7 separate regions of the Homo sapiens genome follow, and regions 1, 2, 3, 4, 5 and 7 are each linked to region 6. Evidence: promoter capture Hi-C in 16 types of primary human blood cells and fetal thymus (Javierre and others, 2016). All regions are on one chromosome and are shown on one strand. The core of a region is centred on a gene start or on the middle of the fragment in contact, and the rest is flanking DNA. Distances in the headings are between cores, read along the strand shown.

The links. Contacts are between HindIII fragments. The CHiCAGO score rates a contact against its expected background, and 5 or more counts as called.
Region 1: a fragment that was not itself captured here is called in contact with the fragment with the promoter of ZNF329 in region 6 in 5 of 17 cell types (naive CD4 T cells, total CD4 T cells, activated CD4 T cells and 2 more); the score reaches 10.7 in naive CD4 T cells.
Region 2: a contact is called between the fragment with the promoter of ZNF772 here and the fragment with the promoter of ZNF329 in region 6, in 17 of 17 cell types (total CD8 T cells, total CD4 T cells, naive CD4 T cells and 14 more). The highest score is 31.9, in total CD8 T cells.
Region 3: a contact is called between a fragment that was not itself captured here and the fragment with the promoter of ZNF329 in region 6, in 4 of 17 cell types (non-activated CD4 T cells, naive CD4 T cells, total CD8 T cells and 1 more). The highest score is 6.4, in non-activated CD4 T cells.
Region 4: a fragment that was not itself captured here is called in contact with the fragment with the promoter of ZNF329 in region 6 in 4 of 17 cell types (naive CD4 T cells, erythroblasts, non-activated CD4 T cells and 1 more); the score reaches 7.2 in naive CD4 T cells.
Region 5: a contact is called between the fragment with the promoter of ZNF543 here and the fragment with the promoter of ZNF329 in region 6, in 14 of 17 cell types (naive CD4 T cells, naive CD8 T cells, activated CD4 T cells and 11 more). The highest score is 29.2, in naive CD4 T cells.
Region 7: a contact is called between a fragment that was not itself captured here and the fragment with the promoter of ZNF329 in region 6, in 5 of 17 cell types (total CD8 T cells, naive CD4 T cells, fetal thymus and 2 more). The highest score is 6.9, in total CD8 T cells.

What each region holds. Positions count from the first base shown.
Region 1 is chr19:57,417,744-57,420,443 of GRCh38, forward strand. ZNF17 (zinc finger protein 17) reads left to right here. Exons shown (of 4, transcript NM_001330617.2): 3 at 169-295; 4 at 1,892-2,700. Among named protein-coding and RNA genes, the nearest start is that of ZNF17, 7.9 kb to the left of the region's middle. The HindIII fragment of the contact is 1,613 bases long and covers 471-2,083 here.
Region 2 is chr19:57,476,230-57,478,929 of GRCh38, forward strand. ZNF772 (zinc finger protein 772) reads right to left here and starts at 1,337. Exons shown (of 4, transcript NM_001144068.2): 1 at 1,048-1,337; 2 at 405-443. The coding sequence starts at 1,080. RefSeq lists enhancers at 538-1,061, 652-1,851. The HindIII fragment of the contact is 1,804 bases long and covers 992-2,700 here.
Region 3 is chr19:57,436,931-57,439,630 of GRCh38, forward strand. The region is part of intron 1 of ZNF749 (zinc finger protein 749); the gene reads left to right. Among named protein-coding and RNA genes, the nearest start is that of ZNF749, 3.0 kb to the left of the region's middle. The HindIII fragment of the contact is 1,919 bases long and covers 469-2,387 here.
Region 4 is chr19:57,459,173-57,461,872 of GRCh38, forward strand. It overlaps the pseudogene VN1R107P. Among named protein-coding and RNA genes, the nearest start is that of VN1R1, 3.4 kb to the left of the region's middle. The HindIII fragment of the contact is 3,582 bases long and covers 1-2,700 here.
Region 5 is chr19:57,319,111-57,321,810 of GRCh38, forward strand. ZNF543 (zinc finger protein 543) reads left to right here and starts at 1,362. Exons shown (of 4, transcript NM_213598.4): 1 at 1,362-1,761. The coding sequence starts at 1,744. RefSeq lists enhancers at 1-255, 1,181-1,300, 1,311-1,460. The HindIII fragment of the contact is 3,609 bases long and covers 1-2,349 here.
Region 6 is chr19:58,149,368-58,152,067 of GRCh38, forward strand. ZNF329 (zinc finger protein 329) reads right to left here and starts at 1,422. Exons shown (of 4, transcript NM_024620.4): 1 at 1,385-1,422. RefSeq lists an enhancer at 1,499-1,558. The HindIII fragment of the contact is 7,703 bases long and covers 1-2,700 here.
Region 7 is chr19:57,498,875-57,501,574 of GRCh38, forward strand. ZNF773 (zinc finger protein 773) reads left to right here and starts at 1,064. Exons shown (of 4, transcript NM_198542.3): 1 at 1,064-1,239. The coding sequence starts at 1,207. The HindIII fragment of the contact is 4,827 bases long and covers 1-2,700 here.

The DNA of each region.
Region 1 (2,700 bases), core at 27-2,526, 730 kb before region 6:
GGCTGAGGCAGGAGAATCACTTGAATCCGGGAGGCGGAGCTTGCAGTGAGCCGAGATCACACCACTGCACTCCAGCCTGGCAACAGAGCGAGACTCCATCTCAAAAAAAAAAAAAAAAAGAAAGAAAAAAAAAGTTGCTCACAGACTAAACTGTTATAATTTTGGCAGGATTATATGGTTTTTGAGGACGTGGCCATACATTTCTCCCAGGAGGAGTGGGGAATTCTTAATGACGTTCAGAGACACCTGCACAGCGATGTGATGCTGGAGAACTTTGCACTTTTGTCCTCAGTAGGTAAGGCCCTGACACCTACGTCAGTGTCTTGTGCTGGGCAATGTTTTTTCACTTTTTTCCTTGGCATCTCCGTCTCACACCAGGTCATGGATGCTGCATCCTCTCCTGGTTTCCTGGCATATGTGTTGTGGCAGCTACAGCTGGGCTGTGTGATCTGTATCAATTTTCCTTAAGAAGCTTAGCTCTTGTCACTCTGAAGCCTTATAAGGCTCAAAAGTCAGAAGTCCTCAGGTTTCTCAAGAATATCCTAATGACCTTGCCTGTCCCTGGTTAGTTTACTCTGTCCAAATGCATGACACTTTCTCTGTGCAAGGCTTTCTCCATTCTTCTTGCTGACATAGGGATACCCTGTGTCAGGAATTTCAGGGACCTACCTCGTCACTGCTTGTGAGGACTGTGGGCTTATTTCTGCAGGACTCTCCACTAGAAGTTCTGGTAACTTTAGAATACAGCATGTCCTGGGTTTATTGCTCTGTGTACATGCTGTTGACACCCTCCCTTTCCCTGTCTTTCCCCTAGCTTGGCTAACGCCACACCTAGATAGTTGCTCACCTTGAGCAAGGTAGAGGTCCCTGGGTGCCTGACAGAGTGGACATTACTCCATTGAAGGCAAGAGATGCTCAAAAGGACTTGGCCCTGGTGGATGGGAGCTCAGAAGGGGTGTGATGACAGGGCTGGGTTCACATCACACTGGGAATCAATCCAGTTTGATGCCCCTGCCAGTGGCCACACCGCATGTCTCTCTTTTCTTCCCTATTGTGATCTCTCTTTTGACTTTCATCTCCTGGCTCCCACCTCTGACCCTACGTCTCTGGCCTCCACCTCTCACCTGTTCCCGTTTTTTGTTTTTTTTTTGTTTTTGTTTTTGTTTTTGAGATGGAGTTTCGCTCTTGCAATGGTGCGCGCGATCTTGACTCACTGCAACCTCTGCTTCCCGGGTTCAAGCGATTCTTCTGCCTCAGCATCCCAAATAGCTGGGATTACAGGCATGCGCCACCACACCTGGCTAATTTTGTATTTTTAGTAGAGACGGTGTTTCTCCATGTTGGTCAGGCTGGTCTCGAACTCCTGACCTCAGCTGATCCGCCTGCCTTGGCCTCCCAAAGTTCTGGGATTATAGGTGTGAGCCACTGCACCCAGCCACCTGTTCCTTTTACTGTTCCCTTTGTAGTGCCCTCAACATATGACCTGTACTTAAGGTGTTGTGAGGTCTGGATGTATATATTTCAGCAGTCCCTGAACACCAGCTCTACTGTCACATCAGATCTCTCTGGGTCTGGACACAGTCTTCTACACATTGTTCACCAGAAGCTATGGCCTGTTGAAAGCCATTCACTGAGGAGTAACTTGGGGACTCCACTTCTGTGCTCTGCACTGTACCACTCCCTATGTTGTTCCCCATCATCAGGACTCTTTCGTTATGGGTTTCTGTCAGTCCCGGTTCTGCCCAGTAGGCTTTCCTCTCACTGGCTTTAATGTCCCATGCCTGTCACCAATCCCATGGTCTTATTTGTGAGTTGGTCTGACAGACATTTGTTATGGGGCTGCCTCTTCCCTCCAAAGTCATCATGCACTTCATGAGCATTTCTGTTTTAGGTTGTTGGCATGGAGCCAAGGATGAGGAGGCACCTTCCAAGCAATGTGTTTCTGTAGGAGTGTCACAGGTCACAACTTTAAAGCCAGCTTTGTCCACCCAGAAGGCCCAGCCCTGTGAGACATGTAGCTCACTTCTGAAGGACATTCTACACCTGGCTGAGCATGACGGAACACACCCCAAGCGTACAGCCAAGCTTTACCTGCACCAAAAGGAGCATCTTAGAGAGAAGCTCACCAGAAGTGATGAAGGGAGGCCTTCGTTTGTGAATGACAGTGTTCACCTGGCAAAGAGGAACCTCACATGCATGCAGGGTGGCAAGGATTTTACTGGTGATTCAGATCTTCAACAACAGGCTCTTCACAGTGGGTGGAAGCCACACAGGGACACTCATGGTGTGGAGGCCTTTCAAAGTGGACAGAATAATTACAGCTGCACCCAATGTGGGAAAGACTTTTGCCACCAACATACACTGTTTGAGCACCAGAAAATCCACACAGAGGAAAGGCCTTATGAGTGCAGTGAATGTGGCAAATTGTTTAGGTACAACTCCGACCTTATTAAACATCAGCGAAATCATACTGGAGAAAGGCCTTATAAGTGTAGTGAATGTGGAAAAGCCTTCAGCCTCAAATACAATGTTGTTCAACACCAGAAAATTCACACTGGAGAAAGGCCTTATGAGTGCAGTGAATGTGGGAAAGCTTTTCTTAGAAAGTCTCACCTACTTCAGCACCAGAGGATTCACACCAGGCCAAGGCCTTATGTGTGTAGTGAATGTGGGAAGGCCTTCCTTACACAGGCTCACCTT
Region 2 (2,700 bases), core at 87-2,586, 670 kb before region 6:
TACCACTGTGAAATGAATATTCTCTTTTAACTCCCAATCTACATAATCATCTTTAAGCCATTTCAGGATGATTCCCGCCCCCTTGCTCTTGGTTCCCACCAGACATGACAGAGACCTGCAATTTCTTGAAAACTCCCTTCTCAGTCTCACCTCTAAGTATTTTGCACAGGCTGGTTCCTGTGCCTGGAACAACCTTCCAACCTTATTCCAATGGTTGGCAGAAATGGAAACCCCTCCATAAAACCCCTGGCCCGGAGTCAGGACCCTGGGCTTGGGGCTTCTCCAGAGTCCTCAGACCCAAGAGATCGGAGAGTAGCAGGAGAGTGTTCTATATAACACCACAATGCTGGAGAGCGTATTGGGTGGGGGTGGGATCGGTGAGAGCATGGACATTCTCCCCTCACCTGTATAGGGTCCACAATTACTTCTGAGTTCATGGGAACCTGTGGGGAAGAGGGAGACTATGCGAGTCAAGCAATCTTGAAGGAACCCCAAAGGCTCAACCCCATCCCATATTCCTACCCAGTTACAATGTGCCTGGGAGCTGAATGTCTACCCTCTGTGCTTCCATCTTCAAGGATACCTCTTAACTGTGTTAGCTCGGAACAGTGCTCATTATCCGCCCCCATGGCCAACAAGAGTCTGCCCTCCATGAGCAGTCTATGGAATACTTTTTAAACCCTCGGATTCTGGCTCTCCTCTGTTCAGAACCTTCCATGGCTCCCATCACCCTCAGAATAGAGACCCAGCTGCTCAGGATGATATTCCAGGTGCAATCACTTATAAAGCGCTCTGATCCTTTCAGACACTAAAGGCCCAGTTTTCCCAAATGCTCCAGCTGTGAACCATCTCTGAGCCTTTGCATACACTGGTCTCTCTGCCTGGAACGTCCTTCAACTCGTGCTGTCAAAATGGGTCCCAAACACGAGCGCCCCCACTGTTCTAGATACAGGGGCCTGAGCTGCAGTAACCCGAGGAATCGTTCATTCGAAGCTTTGGGATTCAGAGATGGGGGTCAGCGCGCAGACTCGCAGACGCAGCACCCACCTGTGCCGGGCCCATCGGCTCAGCCGCCGCCATCAGGCCTGTGGACTACGGAAGGGTGGCGACAAGTGCAGGAACCTGGGATCAGCTGTCCAGGGCCCAGCCCAGCGGCTAGGTCACTCAGGCAGCGCCACTGTCAAGCCTCAGGCCCACCTCTCTTCAGGGAAGAAGACACTCTCTCACGTTTTCCCTTTTCTGTCACCTCAGGTCTGACATTGCGTTCTGGAAACTAAACCAGTGGATTAATGGAAAAGCAAACAAAATGTCCACCCGAGGATGGTAGAGGAAGTCCCGCCCTGACGTTGGTGAGGACCAACGGAAACGCCTATTTCCTGGGTTTTCATTGGCCCAGAGCCGCCAAGTTTCCTGGGTAATGTAGTTCCCACGGCACCAACACTAGTAAGCGGCGTCTCGCTTCACCTCCAGGTTAAAAGCCCAGAGAAGACCGCCAGGGGCGCGTGGAAATGGTGTCCCTCGTCTCCAAGGCCCAGACGGAGCTTAGCTTCCTCTTGAAGGAGCCATATCTGTATTTCTGGTGAACGTCGTGTTTGACATCAAAGGAATGTTTAGAGACATGATTTCAGCCTTCCTTACGCAGAGAATGCTCATCAAAAAATAAAATGGACACACCATACACTGACGTCACTCAGATTTCTATGGCTGGAAGTTAACAAATATTGTTTTCAAATGCGTGTAGCCTGATGCTCCAGAGTTAGTTTGGCGAGCCTCAGCATTTTCTGTCAGGCACAAGAAAGAAAAGACTCCAGACACCATGATGTGGAACGTGGAGTGGGGATGTTTGGTGGCCTTGAAGTAAGTGAATAACCCTTCTGTCTGTTACCTCAGAAAATATTTATCCTGCTTATACAGCAGTGATTGTGTCAAACCCAACAAGTAATACTCTTGTTCAAGATAGTATTTCATACTCCATATACAGAGATGTATTCAATATTTTAAGTGTTTTACAAGTGTCTGAAAAGACAGAATTCATCAAATGTCATATGGCAATGAAAAGGGCAACATGAACACTTTCTGTAAAGAAGAAATAACCACCAAACTAGATGTCTATACACAACAAAATGTCTTTTATGGAAGTGTGATATAAAACTATTTGAAACCAAAAATGATAAATGTAATGGAAATACATTTACACAAAAAATAATGTTTAAAATAATACTCAAGGCCAAAGAAAGTTGATCTCAGGTGAAAAGTCTGCAATGAGAGAAGAAATGAAGATGAAAAGAAGTGCATCTTTTGATTAAAATAACAGCATATTACAGTGTAAAACATAAGTAGATATACTTATTGAGTTAGAATGATGGAATTCCCGTGCGTAACCTCAACTACATATAAATTGAAAGGAGGCTAGTTGCTCAAAGTTTTAAATTTTTTATATTTCCAAGTGGAAAGCAAATGTATTACAATCCTGTATGGCACGCTAATGTGTTAAACGTTTGTAATTTTTAGCCTAAATATAATAAATACAGTCAGCGTATATACTTTTCAAACTAGAAGAGGAAATGTTTGGAATATAAATAAATAATCAATAGAAAGGTAAAATAATAGTAAAATAAGTGGAAGAAGTGAGGCAAAGAAAAGCACAATGTAGGATATATTTAAACTGTCAACCTAAATAACAGAGATTCTTCAAAGATG
Region 3 (2,700 bases), core at 178-2,677, 710 kb before region 6:
TCTGGGACCATAGATTCAAGTTGTCCTGAATATACACTTCAATTACCACAGTGACAAGTGTTTGCTTTTTTTTTAAGGAAAAAAGAAGCAGTTTCTGAGTTGTTTACCAATAACTTATGTTAAAATAAGATAAGTTTTTATTGGCTATACATTCTTATTTATATTATAGATTACAGAAACATGAAGATAATAGGTGAGACAGCTAGTCAGGAACAGAATGTCTTAAAACAGTTGTCCTCAGGCATAGGTTCAGGGATGTGACTGACATCTCATATATTCTTGCCTCTCTGAGCCTGATACATTTTGTGTAGGTCAGACAGGTCTGGGCTATTTTTTTTTTTCCTCAGCCAATATCCTTCTAAATATGTACACATAGGCAATTGGAAATAGATGTAATCAATAATTTAAATGTATTAAAATATTTATTGTTAGAATGTTAATTTACCTGTAACTCTGCTTATAGTACAAAGCTTTATATATATATCACATTTCCTTAAAACATTAAGAAGTGTGGGCTGGGCACAGTGGCTCATGCCTGTAATCCCAGCACTTTGGGAAGCGAAGGTGGGCGGATCACGAGGTCAGGAGTTTGAGACCAGCCTGGCCAACATGGTGAAACTCTGTCTCTACTAAAAATACAAAAATTACCTGGGCGTGGTGGCGGGCGCCTGTAATCCCAGCTACTTAGGAGGCTGAGGCAGGAGAATCGTTTGAACCCGGGAGGTGGAGGTTCCAGTGAGCTGAGATTGTGCCATTGCACTGCAGCCTGGGCAACAGGGCGAGACACTGTCTCAAAAAAAAAAAAAAAAAAGGGAAAAATACTCAAATTTTCAAAACCCTTCTACTTTGTGCTGAAAACATGTACAAAACCATTAATCCTATAGAAAGTAATGCTTATACATAGTGTGTACTACTTATGCTTCTTGTCAATATGAGCCCTGTGAAGTGGGAACCCTTTTAATCTCCATTTTACACATAAGGGCACTGAGGCTTAGGGAGGTTCAGTCCTTGTCCAAAGACACAGAGCTGCTAAGAGGCAGCACTGAACTTAGGACTTGCTGTAGCTTCAGATTACTTTGCTCCAGTACAGGGCAGAGATGGTTGTACAGCTCAGCCTGTAGGATGCCACAGTACTGTCCTGATACTCATGGCTTGCTTCTTCCTGTTACAGGCCGAAAGAATGAGGGTCGTGATCAACTCAGTATGCCACTGGAGGCTATATGAGTAAACAGCAAACTGTTTCTCATGAAAGCAGGATGTTGGCAAACTGACAAACTGCGTCTGCCACCCAGAAGGAATGCTGAAGGCAGTCACGACCCAGGCACAAGTGTTTCTTGTGATTAGGCATAATTGAAGCCTGTTAACAATAATGTGAACTTGTGATCAATTAAGCAGCTGACCAGTCGTTACCTCCTCCTCCCTTTCATCCTACCCAATAAATGTGGAGGGCTGTGGAAGCTCAGGGGCTGCCTTTGCTCACTAGAAGCAGGGAGCTCTCTTCTTCCCCAGTTCGCCTTCTTTAAAACAGTTTCTTTCGTCTTAAGTTTTCATTTCTACGTTCGTCCCCCTTCATTCAGTCTCGTAATGATGGTCTCAAGTAGTAACAGTAACTGTCGTAGTGATGGTCTCAAGTAGTAACTGTACAAGTCTGCCACATCTTCCCACAGGGTCCATTGCAGTGGCAGCAATGCATAAGGACCCTGCACAGGTAAGTCAAGGATTTCTCAGGCTCTCTACCCCAGGCCCCCACCACTTATCTCTCCGTTATTTTAGGCATCCTGATATAGGGAAAGGTGGTGTCCTGAAACTTCATGTTTTTCCCTTCCTTGGGTCTGAAGACTGTGGTTCCACGACAACCAGGAGTCAGAACTCAGCCTCTGGTTATAGAGTGGTCCTAGTTCCGACAACTGATGGGATAAGATGTGGCAGGGCGTTCAGGCACGGGATATAGAAAGTTCAAATGCTTACTGGTGCGACTTAGCTGGGATGTTTAGTGAACTGAAAATCCATGTTGTATCTGGTCGTGATAGAGTATGGCAGCAGGGTAGGAGGTTGGGGCATACAGGGCATGCGGGATCGGCATGGAATGGCAGTCTAAGGTTCTGGGCCTTTCATCTGAGGGCGATGGTAACTAGGGAAGGTTTGAGGAGGGGGGAAAAAGAGGTGACCTGACCCAGGTTTTAGTGGCTCCCTCTGCCTGCAGAATGGAAGACCACGTGCAGGTGAGGGTGGAGCCACCGATACCTGGGTGATGGGTCCAGCAACAGCCCAGGTGGAGGTTGTTGGTGACTGAACGAGAGTGGCGGTGGTGGAAGTGGGAGGAGTGGGGGGCTTCTGTATGTGTTTGATCTAGAGCTGCCTGTATTTTATAACGTAGAGAGCAAGGAAGCTTGGGAGCTGAGATGGAAGAGGGGGTCAGGAATGGCCCCACAGTTTTGGCCTTATTTGGAAGGATGGATGTCCCAGCAACTAAGATGTAGTAAGTTCTGTAGTAGGGGGAGTGTTTATATAGTAGAGCATATGAGGAACCAAGTTTTGGCCAAGTCAAAAATGTTCCAGTGGCCAGGCATGGTGGATCACACCTGTAATCCCAGCACTTTGGGAGGCAGAGGTGGGAAGATTGCTTGAGGCCAGCCTGGGCAACATAGGGAGACTCTGTCCCTACAAATAATAATAAATAGCTGGGTGTGGTGGCGTCTC
Region 4 (2,700 bases), core at 123-2,622, 690 kb before region 6:
CCCAAAGTGCTGGGATTACAGGCGTGAGCCACCGCGCCAATTTAATTTAATTTTTTAAAGTTCCAGGATACAGGTGCCGGATGTGTAGGTTTGTTACATAGGTAAACGTGTGCCATGGTGGTTTGCTGCACCTATCAACCCGTCACCTAGGTATTAAGCTCAGCATGCGTTAGCTATTTATCCTGATGTGCTCCATCCCCCGACCCCTTTGACATATTCCAGTGTGTGTTGTTCCCCTCCCTGTCTCCATGTGTTCTCATCGCTCAACTCTCACTTATAAGTGAGAACATTTGGTGTTTGGTTTTCTGTTTCTGTGTTAGTTTTCTGAGGATAATGGCTTCCAGCTCCATCCATATCCCTGCAAAGGACGTGATCTCATTCTTTTTATGGCTGCATAGTATTCCATGGTGTATATGTACCACATTTTCTTTATCACTGATGGGCATTTGGGTTGATTCCATTTCTTTGCTATTGTGAATAGTGCTGCAATGAACATATACATGCATGTATCCTTATAACAGAATGATAATAATAGAATGATTTATATTCCTTTGGATATATACACAGTAATGGGATTGCTGGGTCAAATGGTATTTCTGGTTTTAGGTCTTTGAGGAATTGCTACACTGTCTTCCACAATGGTTGAACTAATTTACCTTCCCACCAACAGTGGAAAAGCATTCCTATTTCTCCACCACCTTGCCAGCATCTGTTGTTTCTTGACGTTTTAATAACAGCCCACTGAACAGCAAAAACCTTAGTGTGAAAAACAATTATGGAGTCTGCTCCTGGGCAATGCAAGAAATATTTGGCACCTTATATACAATTATATACTTTTCTCCTGACTTTTTGAGTTTTGGCTTCTTGGTGTGGGTCAGTGGCTCCATAGTCTTTGTCCTATACAGACACAAGCAGCAAGTCCAACACATTTGTAGCAAGAGACTCTCCTCAAATCAGTATAAGTAAAATTAGGAAAATATTAAGATGATAGTGAGGGCCGGGTGTGGTGGCTCATGCCTGTAATCTCAGCACTTTGGGAGGCCGATGCAGGCGGATCACGAGGTCAGGAGATAGAGACCATCCTGGCTAACACGGTGAAACCCCGTCTCTACTAAAAATACAAAAAATTAGCCGGACATTGTGGCGGGCACCTGTAGTCCCAGCTACTCGGGAGGCTGAGGCAGGAGAATGGCATGAACCCAGGAGGTGGAGCTTGCAGTGAGCCGAGATCGCGCCACTGCACTCCAGCCTGGGCGACAGAGTGAGACTCCATCTCAAAAAAAAAAAAAAAAGATGATAGTGAATATATCAAAATCAATATCATCATTGTGATATTATACTGTAATTGCCAAATGTAACCATGGGTGGAAACTGGGCCATGTGTAGAGGCTCTCTGAGTTATTTTTTAAACTGCTTGTGAGTCTAAAATTAAATTAAAATTATTGTTAATAAAATGGTCAGTAAAAATGCTCAGGAATATGTAAGGCAAAAATAAGGCATTATAAAACCTTGTCCGTCATTATGTTTTAATACACATCTCCTCACATACTTATCATTTCTTTCTGATGAGAACATTTAAAATCTACTCTTTTGGCAATTTTGGAATAGACATTAACAATAGTCACCACGCCGTGCAACAGATCACTAGAACACATTCCTTGTGTCTAACTGAAACTTCGTATGCTTTCACAAAAACCTCCCGTTTTTCAGTTTGCCCTCTATCTCTTTAGCCTCTGGTAACCACCATTCTACTCTCTACTTTTATAAACTCAACTTGCCTAAATTCTGCATACAAGTGAGACCATGACCATGTGGTGTTGGTCTTTTTGGACTTTCTTTGAATGTGTCCTGCCTTCAGAGATGTGTTGACCTACAAGAAAAATGTATTGAAGCATACCACTATAATGTGTGCACATTTCTGAATGTCATGTATAAGATACCTATTTTTGCCACTCCTATTCAGTATAGTACTAGAGGTCCTAGCCAGAGAAATCAGGCAAGAAAAATACCTAGCTAACTAAATAAAAGATATTCGGGTGAGAAAATATAAAGTAAAATTGTTTTTCTTTGTTGTAATATGATCTTATAAACTCTTAGAACTGGGGAACAAATTTAATATAGTTGTAAGACACAAAATCAATATACAAAAATCAGTAGCATTGCGGTACACCAATAATGAAATAGCCAAAACAGAAATCAAGAAGGCAATTCCATTTGCAATAGCTATAAAAAGCAAAATAAAATAAAATAGAACACTGAGAAATATTTAATCAAGAGGGGAAAGACATCAAGGAAAACTACAAAGCATTGATAAAATAAACTGAAGAGGACACAAACAAATGGAAAGACATCCCATGCTCATGTATTCAAAGAATACATATTGTTAAAATAACAGACAGTACTACCCAAAACAATCTAAAGATTTAATGCAAGCCCAATCAACATACAAATGCCATTTTTTCACAGATATAGAAAAAAATTCTAAAATTTGTATGGATCTTCAAAAGAGCCCAAATAGCCAAAGCAATCCTGAGCCAAAAGAACAAACCTGGAGCATCACACTACCTGACTTCAACACCTTACACAGCCATAGTATCCAAAACAGCATAGTATTGGTATTTTGTTTTTGTTTTTTGAGACGGAGACTCGCTGTGTCGCCCAGGCTGGAGTGCAGTGGCGCCACCTCGGCTCACTGCAAGC
Region 5 (2,700 bases), core at 112-2,611, 830 kb before region 6:
TTCCAGCCATATTGCTGCAAAAGCCATGATTTTTTTTAATGACTGAGTAGTATTCCATGGAGTGTATATATATATACACATATATACATATACATACATATATATACATATATATACATATACATACATATATACATATATACATATACATACATATATATACATATATATACATATACATACATATATATACATATATATACATATACATACATATATATACATATACATACATATATATACATATATATACATATACATACATATATACACATATATATACATATACATACATATATACATATATATACATATACATACATATATACATATATATACATATACATACATATATACATATACATACATATATATACATATATACATATACATACATATATATACATATATATATCGCATTTTCTTTATCCAATCATCTGTCGATGGACACTTAGGTTGATTCTATGACTTTGCTACTGTGAATAGTGCTACAGTAAGCATGTAAGTACAGGCATCTTTTTGATATAGTGGTTTATTTTCCTTTAAGTAAATACCCAATAGTGGAATTGCCAGATCAAATGGCAGTTCTATTTTCAGTTCTTTGATAAATCTCCATACTGTTTTCCATAGAGGTTGTACTAATTTACATTCCCACCAATAGCATATAAGCGTTCCCTTTTCCTTGCATCCATACCAACATCTGTTGGTTTTTTACTTTTTAATAATAGCCACTCTGACCAGTATAAGATGGCATCTCAGTGTGTTTATGTGTGTGTGTTTTCTCTCATCATATCTCATTATAACCTCAAATTCCTGGGCTCAAGCAATCCTCTTGCTTCAGCCTCCCAGTGTCTAGGACTACAGGTGTACACCATCATGCCTTGCTCTTTTTTTTTTTTTTGGTAGATATAACATCTTACTATATTGCCCAGGGTGGTCTCAAACTCCTGACCTCAGCAATTATTTTGTGTTGGCATCCCAAAGCACTGAGATTACATATATGAGCTACCTCCCTAAAATAAGGGAAGTGAGCCAGAAGCTCTGGGCCCAGCCCATGATCTCAATCGGGGCGAATATCCCCGCCTCCTGACCTCAATTTTCCTAAGCTAGAAAGGACCTTTCGACCCTCCGACTTGTGCCCATAGTAAAGCGGCGGCCCTAAGACGACGCGGGGGTCCTTGTGCGCACTTAAATGGAGTCGGCTGCGCTTGGTGAGTTCCCACACCCGGTAGATGTGAGGGAAAAACTGCCTTACTCAGAAGGCACCACCCCTTGCGTCGGCCGCGGACTCTAGGCCAATGACGGGCCAGGACACGGGCGATTTCTGCGGGCCAGGGCGGCGGAGGTGGGACTTCCGCTTCGTCGCGTGACGTCATCTCCGTGAGCAGGATTGGCCCTGGAACAGTGTGGGGCCTGGACCGCTGGGTAGGCGCGTCCAGCGGCCTGAGCAGGGGAGGGTAATGAGGCTGTTACGCGCCTTCTCCGCATCTTGGCGGGAGCCTGACGCCCCGCTTCTTCCCTAACGGGGTGTTCCACCGGCGCCTGCCGAGGCCTAGGCCTCCGCAGCCGCCCTCCGTCTCCTCAGCCCCGACGCTGCGCCCGCTTTGTGCGCATTTTTCTCTGGGGAAACTGAGGCTCCGAGTGCGAAAGTCAGCCGAGGTCGCCCCGCCCAGGACAGAGAAGGGCTGGGGGTCGGCTGAGCCGCGGCATTCCCGGGCCCCGCTAGGGCTGCAGGGTCTCAGGATGGCAGCCTCGGCGCAGGTGAGTGGACGAGGTTTTGGCCTTGCTGCTGCTCTGCTACTTCTGGAGGCCTCGTGGGCAGGCAGAAGCCAAGACAGCCACAGGATGTTTCTTTGTCGCCGTCGTTTATTTAAGAGAAGTGGCCGTAGCTTGTCATTTCCTTTATCCGCAGTCCTGCAATAGTGTTGGCCTCCGACAGGTGCTCAGTCCTTGGTAGAAGGATGAATGATGCTTCCTTCATGGATCTCATCACACTTCCCTTAAATCCAACCTCCTCTGTTGCCTGCCAGCCCCTACCCCATCCACCTGGCCAACCACCCCTGACCTTGTCTCTCCATTTTTCCCTTGTCCTTTGCTCTTCAGAGCCACCAACCTGACCGTGCAGTCTTCTTCCTTTTTCCAGGCTTTCTCTTTGCACTTCCCTTTGCCTTGAACACTGCCCCTATAACTTCGCAGGGCCTCCCTCTCATATCTTTCTGGCCTCTGTCCAGATGTCACCTATTTGGAGGTGGCTTTCTTGGCAATTCCGGCTAAAGTGGCGCCTTACGCACTTGCCCATTTTTGGCAATGTGTGGCATTTTTGTATAGAGAATCTGACGATATTAAAGAAGCTTGCCGTTTGAGTTGGTCTAGGATGTTATGTGAACAAAGAGAAACGAAATAATTGCAAAGAGTGACAGCTGATCATAAAGAGTCCTTGCTGTGGGCTGATTGGCAGGCATTATTTAACCCTCAGCTCCTTTAATCCTGAACTCCTTAGAATTAGGTTCTCTTGTCCTCACTGTTTTACACAAGAGCAGCTGGAGGCTCACATAGGTTCAATTACCTGCCTTACATCACTGTAGCTCTTAAGTATCAGAAACTAACAACTGGTGTGTCTACCATCACAGCCTGTGTTTTTACCCTCTTCTTTGCCCGCAATGGTTAGGGAGGCCTGGGGGTGACACCTAAAGTAAACTT
Region 6 (2,700 bases), core at 172-2,671:
CTGAATTTTCTTTCCCAAGATATAAGAACCCTCTGTTGGGTTATAGCTCGGGACCCCCTTTCTGGTAACACCTATGCATGTGTCTCAGGCAGGGAGAAGATAAAGATAAAGCTAATGTGGCAAAAAGTGTTAATAATTTTAGAATCTGGATGGTTTTAGAAGTGTTAAACTATTCCTGCAACTTCTATGCAAATGCGGAACTTTTCAAAATGAAAAGTTGGGTGAAGAGAGAGGTAAACAAGCAGTAGAATGGAGGAAAGTCACTTGCTGTGGGAAAAAAGAAAAAACAGACAAAAACTGGGTATTCAAAACGTACTTCAACAAGCCCAAGTTCCTATAGCCAAATTTTTTAACTTGGCAAAAAATAAAGGACCTTTTCAGGCTGATGGTAATTTTAATAAAGGTTTAGGTTGCATTTGTCAAAATTCATCAATGGTACAGGGAATATCTGTGCATTTCACTGAAAGTCAATTTTGGCTCAAAAAATTTAAAAAAGCACTACTGAACTCTAATTCATGGTAAGCATAGTGAGGTGTTTGAGGGAGAAGTGTTGTGATATCTGCAACTTACTTTGAAATGTTTCCAAAAATAGGTGGATTAATGAATGGCTGAAAGGATGGACAGAAGGAAAGATAAGGGATACAGTAAGTTCAGCAGACGTTAACCGGGTCGTTCACTGCACAAGTCTTTCAGCTTCTCTATCTAAACCAACATTTTATGTCATAAAATATTGAGACTGGAAGACTGCACAAAGGAAATATGCCACTAAACCAAGGGAAAAGACAGCAAAATGGTCACTAAACACGTGCAAAAATGCGGCCCTCACTGAGAATTGCAGTAAAACATGATTTTGCAAATATCAAATGGAAAAACACACAGGTGATCTAACACCTTCGAGACTCAAGGGGAAGCGGCTCAGCCCACTGGCTCACGGCCGCCAATTCAGCCGGAGGCCGACCCAAGCCTACACTGCCCCTCACACCTGACAGAAAAGCTGCAGACTCGGGGGTTACCCCCGGAGACGGACCAGGACACCCAGCAGGCGTGGCAAAACAGTCTCTATGGGAGGGCGGGCTAGAGATGCGAGCGCGGAACTCACGGGTGACGCTAAGGAAAGAGCGGGGGCGTCCAGACCAGCCCCGGAGCGACCTCGTCCTCAGAGGAGTGACCCCAATCGCCACGGAGCGTCCCCACCCACCAGGAGAACTACGCCCCTGGCCAGACCCTCGCCCTAGCGGGCCCGACATGCCCACCACCCAGGTGAAACCCACCCGCGGACGCGCCCCTCGCCGCCCCACAAGGACCCGGCGGACCTCCACCCGCCAAGACTTCCCTCCGCAGGAAACGGAGGCAGCGCAGGGCTCAGGGATGCGTCGGCACTTACGGTTGGCGGCCGGCGGCAGCCATGTTCCGGGCGATTGCGCTTGCGCGGCTGCCGGGACAAGGATGTGCGCGTGCGCGGAGTCCCCGAGCTTCCCCCGCCCAACGCTGGGGCGGCCGCGGGTACCGGGTTATTCATTACCCTGGCGTGGACTTGCCTCGGGGCGGACGCGCAGGCATTTACTTTCTCCTATGGTCTCCTCTGATTTTTAACCCGATGCTATCATTCTTTTGTTATAGAGCCTTCCTTTTATTTACTGCATAATTTCCTAAAATATTTCTTTATCTATAATCTTTTTTTGAGATAATAATGTTAAAATTCAGAATAAGTACACTCATTATTCATTGGCAATATAATTATTTACTGGGTGCGTGGCTCACGCCTGTAATCCCAGCATTTTGGGAGGCCTAATTTGTTAAAATGACTAGATCTAAGAAATGTAAACAAAGCCAGTAACTTTCCTCTGTAGTAACAATAGCCGGTTGAAAATGAAAACTACACATTTTCATTCTTTCAGTGGTTCTCTTAAACTTTAGCATGGGGAAGCCTAAATATTTACTGACAGGGAAGAGAGAAACTGTGGTATGTGCAACGGAGCAATAGGGGGTGGTTAAAACAAACGGACTGGGCTCACCTAAGGTCAGGAGTTTGAGACCAGCCTGGCCAACATGGTGAAACCCCGTCTCCACTAAAAATACAAAAATTAGCTAGGCGTGGTGGCAGGCGCCTGTAATCCCAGCTCCTCGGGAGGCTGAGGCAAGAGAATCACTTGAACCTGGGAGGCGGAGGTTGCAGTGAGCTGAGATCGTACCATCACACTCCAGCCTGGGGGACAAGAGGGAGACTTCGTCTCAAAAAAAAAAAAAAAAAAAAGGACTAACTTATATACAAGATAGACAGTTCTCCAAAAACAGTTCGAAAAGTAAACTGTGCACTTATCCACATGATACAACTTACCTGGAAATAAAAGACACAAAATCTATATGTTATACAGAGATTGATACATAAGTAGTAAAGTAACAATAACATGGACCAGATAGATTGTCCAACCTCAAGAAAGTGGCAACTGAGGGGAAAGAGTTGGGGAGGAGACAAAGGAGACCTCAGTTACACCTGTGATGCTTGATAGGAAAAAACAAATCAAAACCTGAAAATCTGACTACATGTTAACACAGGTAAAATCTCGATGATACATGGGTGTCATCTTTATTATTTATAGATTATTCTATTACTCTCCGAACCTCTCCGCAGGTTGAAATACTTCACAATTTTGAAATGAAAATTAGAAAAAAAATTCTAAGCCATAATAGTGATTAAAT
Region 7 (2,700 bases), core at 2-2,501, 650 kb before region 6:
ACAGGAATATGGAGCAGAAATGGATGAAGGGGAGAAATTGAGGGGGAGTTGGCTTATGGGTTTGCTGCCTGTTGTTGTGCCTTTACACCAATGTTGGGTCCTTGAGGAAGGAAAGAACACAAATGAGAATGGGGTGAAAGAGGAACGTAAATCCTTGGGCTCCCCTACTCTCTCATCACCTACATCCAGAATTCAGAGCCTTTTCTTATTATCATACATCAGGCATTAATATTGGGTGTCCCCTTGCCAAAGGAAATTTAGGAAGGTATACGTGGCTTTGCCCAGTGAAACCTCTTTATGGTGGCCCTGAAGATCCTCTTCAAGTCCTTCAAAAGAAGGAAAGATTGGAGTATCAGCTGCAGGAAACTGAAATCCAGGCCCATCTCCAATTACAACAGGTTCCAGATGAGTCCGAGAGTTCTCGACACTCATTTCTCCTCCATCTCCTACTCCATCATCTCCATCTCCATCTTCTCCATCATCTCCATCTTCATCATCATCTCCATCTCCATCATCTCCATGTCCATCATCATCTCTATCTCCATCATCTCCATCTCCATCATCTCCATCTCCATCATCATCTCTATCTCCATCATCATCTCTATCTCCATCATCTCCATCTCCATCATCTCCATCATCTCCATCTCCATCTCCTACTCCATCATCTCCATCTCCATCTTCTCCATCATCTCCATCTTCTCCATCATCTCCATCTTCTCCATCATCTCCATCTTCATCATCTCCATTTCCATCATCTCCATCTCCATCATCATCTCTATCTCCATCATCTCCATCTCCATCATCTCCATCATCTCCATCTCCATCTCCATCTCCATCATCTACCGTCTCCAATCTCCATCTCCGAAGTTATGCCCACTTCCTCGAAGTTTGGAGCCACGCGAACTACACTGCCCAGAAGGCGCCGCGCCGTGAGCCGCGATGCTTGGCCAATGAAAAGAGGTCTACCCGAGAGTGCGACGCGCAATGGGCGGGACTTCCGGCGTCTCCCCTCGGCGGTTGCTTTCGCTGCCCTCAAGAGAACTCAGCTTGCCGGAAGCTGGTTGTTCGCTGCGGCGACCAGCTCCGGAAAGCGCGGTGGGGACGCGCTGTGTTCTCGCAGCTCAGAGGCGGGTCTGAGGCTCGGTGGCGGCGCCCAGGGTGGCCCGGGCCCTTTCCTCGGTCGTTGTCTCACCGCCACAGGCTCCGATGGCGGCGGCCACGCTGAGGGACCCCGCTCAGGTGAGCGCCGCGTCCTCCCGGCCTCCCCCGAATCCTAAAGCCCTGTGAGGGCCGCCTGCTCAGGTCCCCGGGTGCAGAACTGTGGGGCGTTCGTGGGCGGCGTCCCGTTTCTGACACGCAGTGTGATGGGGTGGCAATGGAGGGCAAGGGGCCCGGCTCGCAAAGATGTGAGGCGCATTCAGCGAGTCCCGAACCTGAGGCCTCCTGGTGTCTGTAGTGGGCAGCTTGGGAAGGGACGAGGCGCGTGTCGAGCGACAGCCCGAGCAGCTGCGCTTTCATCCTGAGGGGGCCACAGTGGCCGCGGAGGGCTGGAGACAGAAGAGTGACAAGATCTGTTTCTCAAAGTTTGCCAAAGGCCCTTCAAGTCAAAACAGACTGGGGTGGGGGTGAGGCGGGTGAAGACAGACCTGTGAGTAGGTAAATTCAGTAGACTAGTGGAGAGTCTACTGGGACTGGGCCACAGAGGAGGGGAAGTGATCAGATCTTGGATGGATTTCAAAAACTGAACAGACGGGAATTCCTGTTGCATCAGATGTGACTGTGAAAGAAAGTAGGGAATGAAGAGCCATTCTGGATTTTTATTTGTATTTTTGTTTGTTCCTGAATATCAGGAAGGATGGAGATGGGTAAGGCTGTGCAGGGAATAGGTTTTGGGCATGGTGATCCTGAGATGTCCCAGAGTGGAGGTGTCATGTCCACATGAGCAGCTGGAAGGCCTGGGGCTCGTATTTAGGAGGGAGAATCTTAAAGTTTTCTTTCAGATGGTCCCTGAGGTGAGGGAAGGGAGAGATGGGCCTGTAGGATGGGGCAGCCTCTACAGCCTGGAGTTTCGTGGTCCGAAGTGATTTTGTCTGGTGCCTGCAGGAATGGAGGGTTATAGAGTATGAACACCCAGGACTGGATGGAGACCGCAGTGTTGGGTAGTATATAGGTTTGCCACTCCAGGCTTAGTAGTTCCTCATGTCCAGTCCATATGGAGAAAAGGAAAGGTCAGCCAGGCTGGTGGAGCAGCACCTTTGGTGCCTAAGTTTCCCTAGCTATCAGCACAGGTGGGATGATCAACTGCTCCAGTAGAAGGGAGGGCTCTCAGCAGGATGGTCTTCAGGGGAGTATATAGCAGGCAGCCAGATTGCCAAAAGGAAACCCACATTGTCTTTCTTTTTCTTTCTTTTTTTTTTTTTTTTGAGACAGAATTCTGCTCTTGTGATCTGCCCACCTCGGCCTCCCAAAGTGTTGGGATTACAGGCTTGAGCCACTGCACCCAGGCAGAAACCCACATTTTGAAAACCTACCAGTTTATTTGCACTGAAAATGTTGACAGAAGCATTAATTATGTGTACAGTAAGAGTTGATATTTAGTCCTAGACACATAAGAATGAGTTTGATACAAACAATAGTCCTATTGAGTGAATACCATTATTGCCATGTTGCAGATGGCAATACCAAGGCACAGGGAAGTTG